2 separate regions of the Homo sapiens genome follow, and region 1 is linked to region 2. Evidence: promoter capture Hi-C in human tissues and cell types (Jung and others, 2019). All regions are on one chromosome and are shown on one strand. Each heading gives the region's core, a stretch centred on a gene start or on the middle of the fragment in contact. The rest is flanking DNA. Distances are from core to core; before and after follow the strand shown.

Region 1 (2,700 bases), core at 108-2,607, 350 kb before region 2:
ACGGTGAAACCTCATCTCTACTAAAAATAACAAAATTAGCTGGACATGGTGGTGGGCACCTGTAATCCCAGCTACTTGGGAGGCTGAGGCAAGAGAATCGCTTGAACCCAGGAGGCAGAGGTTGCAGTGAGCCGAGCTGCGCCACTGCACTCCAGCCTGGGTAACAGAGTGAGACTCCATGTCAAAAAAGAAAAAGAAATCGATTTTTATGGTTCATCCGTTAAACTGAGAGAGACATCATCCGTTAAACTGAGAGAGACACGTAATCCAAAAATTCTTGCACTTCACAAGAACACTTAATGGATCAAAACTTAATTTGTAAGGGATAATTATGTTTAAAATGCACACACTTAGAAGTTAATGTCCCACCTCTGAGGCAGTGTGGTACACTGATAGCTGAGTGAGCTCCAGAGATGTCTGGAGAATCTACTGTTTGCTATAGTTACCTTATTAACTTACCAAGACAGTGATGCAAGTGACCAGAAGGGTGAACATTCAACTTCCACATGAAGCAAATTGAATTTTGTACATATGACATTTTCTATTACTGACCCCCACCCCCTAAAAAAAATCACAGCTTAAAAAAAAGCATGATATCTTTGGCAGATATGGATCTATTCAACAAATCAGGGTTGGGAACAAACAATCTGAAAACTGAAGGAAGTCCTTAAGAACTATAAGGACAACACTGATGTCAAAATGCATGTAACCTATCAGATTTTTCATTAAAATACCAACAAAGCATTTCAAAAGATAGGCCCAAAGAGGCAAAAGAAACAGATGAAACTAATCAAGGAGTGATGTGGCATCAATATAAATTCACTAAGCATTTCTCTGACTTTTTTGTTTGAAGAAAATTTAAAATACATGCATCCTTCCTCCCTCACCCCCACCATTTCACACCCAGATTGCTAAAATTTTTAAAGTCTGACAAAACCAAGAGCTGGCAAGGATATGAAGAAATGGGAACTCTCATACAATGCTGGTGACAGTATAAATACATGCTCTGGAAAGCAATCTGGCCACATCTGGTAAGTATGATGAAAAACCAAATACCCTATGATTTCTTATACCCTAAGAGAAAGCCTTGCACGTGAGTACATGGCCACAAAAAGAAATCAACAAAGATGTATCAAACTTCATTTGATAAAGCAAAAAATTGGACAAAATCTAAATGTACATCCATCCACAGAAGAATGAATAAATAATGTTATACAATACCACATTAGCAGTTAGATGAATCTGATCAACACAGATAAATTTACTGAAAATATTAGGTTAAAAAAAGGTTGTAGAAAGATACATAGAGTATGATGTACTATTGACATAAAATTTAAAAACACAATACAATGGAAAATATATATGATAAAGTATAAAAAGATGACAGGATACGCACCAAGTTCAGAATAGTCATTACCTCTAAACAAGGGAAGGTGCACAAGAAGCCTTCGAACACATTTGTGATATTTGACTATTAACAACAGAAAATAATCTGGGTTGGGGGAGCCTAAAAACTCTTATGCTAGTATTCATGCTATTATTTTTACCACTTATAGGGTATAATGTGATTAGGAAATTTCAGTTATTCTACTTATAAGGAATTTGCCTGAAAGAAAAGTCAATAAGAACTAGCCCAAAACTGTGATAAAAGAGGAAAAAAGTCAACAAGGAGATAAAAAGCACCTGAGAAAGAATGAATATTGCCCCTAAGACTAAACACAGTGAAATCAGGGTTAAATAATATTCAGGACCATTTTGATGGGAATATAATCATTTTTTAAACAAAACACATATAGTAATCTAAATAACATTTATTACCCACCACCACACATTTGGGAGGCTGAGGTGGGATGTTTTCTTTTTTGCTTTTTGTTTTTTGAGATAGGGGTCTCACTCTGTTGCCCAGGTTGGAGTGTAGTGGCGTGATCACAGCTCACTGCAGCCTTGAACTCCTGGGCTCAAGTGATCCTCCCGTGATATGGTTTGGCTCTGTGTTCACACCCAAATATCACCTTGAATTTTAATAATCCCCACCTATCAAGGGCGGGACAAGGTGGAGATAACTGCATCATGGGGGCAGTTCCCCCATGCTGTTCTTGTGACAGTGAGTTCTCATGAGATAGGATGGTTTTATAAGCACCTGGCATTTCCCCTGCTGGCCCTCATTCTCTTTCCTGCCACCCTGTGAAGAAGTGCCTTCTGCCATGATTGTGAGTTTCCTAAGACATCCGTAGCCATGCGGAACTGTGAGTCAATTAAACCTCTTTTTTAAAATAACTTACCCAGTCTTGGGTATTTCTTCATAGCAGTGTGAATACATCCCACCTCAGCCTCCCAAATAGCTAGGACTACAAGCAAGCACCACAACACCCAGCTAAGTTTTCATTTTTTTGTAGAGTCAGGGAATTGCTATGCTGCCCAGGCTGGTCTTGAACTCCTACCCTCAAGGGATCCTTTCCACCTTAGCCTCCCAAAGTGCTGGGATTACAGGCATGAGCCACCATGCCAGCCCTATTTTGTTAAATGGAATCTATCCAGTTGATGAAGCCAGAAATTCCTATCAAGTACATCATCAAATTCTACTATTCTACTCTAATAAGTAGCTTGATAATCTATCCACTACCACCTCTTACTTAAATATTTGCAACAGCCTCCTCCCTGGTTCTTCGTCCCTTGGCCCCAACCCAATCTCCATTCGGC
Region 2 (2,700 bases), core at 178-2,677:
TTACAGGCGCGCGCCACCACGCCCAGCTAATTTTTGTATTTTTAAGTAGAGACGGGGTTTCACCGTGTTGGTCAAGCTGGTCTCAAACTCCTCCTGACCTCGTGAATCTCTCGCCTCGGCCTCCCAAAGTGCTAGGATTACAGGAGTGAGCCACCGCGCTCGGGCTTTTTTTTTTTTTTTTTTAAACATTCTCTGTTAGCAATCACTTTTAAAAGACTAGAAAATCATTTTTGGTTTTCCAAACCACCTCCACCCAGTGAGTCAGTTAGTAAAAGGGCTGGGTCTCACCGTTTCTCATTGATGGCATGAAGCCCAGGAACCCAAGAGGCAGCTGTTGCAAATTTATGGGGGAAAAAATACACGAAACAGGAAGGGTGACTGAAGATACGCGCAACAGCGAATACAATTTTGCAAAACCGGCTTCTAGGTATGGTAGGATCATTTAAATCCGTCAGTGATGTGGAGAAAGAACATGGAGGCATGGCTAGTCCTCTGCACGGACAGGTAGGTAGCCAACCACCAGTGAGGACTGAAAGACAGTCCTCACTGAAAAGGACTGAAAGTTTGCAGTGGCCAAAATTATCTCTTTTACCTATTCAGTGCTTGAAACTCTTTCCTTGCCTGGAAGGTAACTCATTACACTCATCATCTAATTCGGACACATTTAGCAGATTAGCTGGCCATCAGCTGGCAAAAATCAGGGCGTTTACGGCAGTCGGAAGACAACAGCGTCATGTCTGTCACTTTACGGTGGACATCAGCCATCTACCTCTGCACCTTGGTTTCCTTGCGCAGTGTTTGCACAGGATGAGCTAATTTCAACACAGATTTGCTGCTGGTCGGGGAACAGCAATCAAATCTGGAATGCTATTCTAGAATAGCTTCCAAGAACTGTAAACGAGAACCAGTGTACGACCTTGGCCTGGCGCATTCTGTCCTACGGTTCACTAAACACAGTAAAAATTTCCCCAAGTTTCCCTAAATTCGCTGTGTCACCGGAAAGTACAGCCACTACCAGCCAGACGGCTTTCAGCACTGCCCGTGCGTTTCCCTACTCAGCCTCCCGCGAGGCAGCTGGGCCACGCTCCGGCCTCAGCCCCTCCACCTGCCCGAGGGCGGGGCGCCACTGGTCCCTGGGATTTCCAAACGGACGGAAGGGCTTCCCGTAAGCCAGGCCGGCCGCCTCACCCACGCCACCCCAACACACCCCGGCCGGCAGCCCGGCTACGAGACGCGCAAACCGAGTCGCCGCCATCCGGGAGGCCCACACTGCCCTCCAGCCGCGCCCCACTAGCACCGGGACAGCAGCGCCCAGAGCTGGCCGAGGGCAAGACCACCGAGGCAGACGAGGTGGGAAAGGGAGGGGGGCGCCGCTCCTCACCTGACCCCAGCAGCAGCGTCACAGCCCAACCCGGTCTCCCGCAAGATGGAGCCGGGGGCGGGCCCAGGGTGGGCGGGGCGTCTCGCGAGCCCGTTAGGATCGCGGCTGCAGCCGGGAACACCCCCGGAGCCGGAGAGGGCGCTGCGGGGAGCGGGCTGTCCCTCAGTCCCGCCCCTAGGCGCCACCTGAGGGAAAAAGACTCTCCCTTCGGGTGGCCCAGCGGATTTTTAATCACATTTATCTGTCGCAAGGACCCTGCACCAATCCCTTTTAAGGCTGCCTCAAGTCACCTAGGAAGTTGCAGCAGTCCTGGGGGTATCCGGGGCCCCTTCAGTGGCGGGCGGTAGAGAAGGGCTGAGACTGGGAGGCTGGTGCAGCCTCCCCGCCTCTGAAATACCGTCCTCCAGGTATTTTCTGGGGACAAAGACGGCGTTTTTTGTTAGCCTCCTGTGAAAGTAATATTTGTGGGAAATCTTAGTTGGAACTGTAGATGAACTAATCAAAATCACTCCCGAAAGGAGTTGTTAGGTGATTTTAGGCTCCCCTCGTGGCTACAGCATTGAACACACATTAGCATTAAACATTTGAGGCAATTACGAGGGCTCAGATCAATATTTTAAACTCGTTAAGGAATTTATATTACAGAGAAAACCAATCAGCTACCTTTTAGAGTGGTAAAAGGTAGCTTCTGGGTGTGGTCCCCCGAACAGCAGCATCACCTGGAAACGTGTTAGTAACGCAGATTATTGAACTCCACCTTAGACCTACTGAATCAAACTCCCCGGGTGGTGCCCAGCAACCTGTTTTAACAAGCCTTCCAGGTGGTTCTGATGCACACTAAAGTTTGCACATCTGATGCACATCAACTTACTTATTCCTCTACACACTTTTCTACCCAAAAGCTTCCTCATGGGGGTGGAATAGAGTGGATTACGATTTTAAATGGGAAGAGCAAGCAAAATATACGTGGCTTCCAAATAGGTGTGTGGAGTGAAAAGTATTTGAGGCAGGTCATTGCCTCATTTAACAATGGTAGACAAAATGCACAACTCTCTAGGTGACCAGCATTAATTCCCCGGCGCCCAACAGTCTGTCTACCTGGAAAATAACAGGACTTTCTGTCCTACCTACCCCAGAGACCTCCAGGATTTAAGCCTTCCCTGAGAAGCCTACTCTGTTCATTCTAGAGTTCCCTTTGTGAGCTCGTTCCAAACCCTCCCTCTGCCTTAAATACCACCATAACAGGGTATTTGCCAAACCTCTTATTTCCAGCCCACTTTCCTGAGCTGCAGGAATAGTCCAATAGTCTACTACGACAT

Evidence for each region. The method cuts DNA at HindIII sites, captures the fragments that hold promoters and counts their contacts. A contact is called where the count stands out against the background at its distance.
Region 1: a fragment that was not itself captured here is called in contact with the fragment with the promoter of ANXA7 in region 2 in 1 of the 25 tissues and cell types used here (hippocampus).

What each region holds. Positions count from the first base shown.
Region 1 is chr10:73,064,657-73,067,356 of GRCh38, forward strand. All of the region lies in intron 5 of P4HA1 (prolyl 4-hydroxylase subunit alpha 1), which reads right to left. Among named protein-coding and RNA genes, the nearest start is that of P4HA1, 31 kb to the right of the region's middle. The HindIII fragment of the contact is 5,132 bases long and covers 1-2,700 here.
Region 2 is chr10:73,412,631-73,415,330 of GRCh38, forward strand. ANXA7 (annexin A7) reads right to left here and starts at 1,428. Exons shown (of 13, transcript NM_001156.5): 1 at 1,382-1,428. RefSeq lists enhancers at 442-561, 572-651 and a silencer at 1,052-1,611. The HindIII fragment of the contact is 7,160 bases long and covers 1-2,700 here.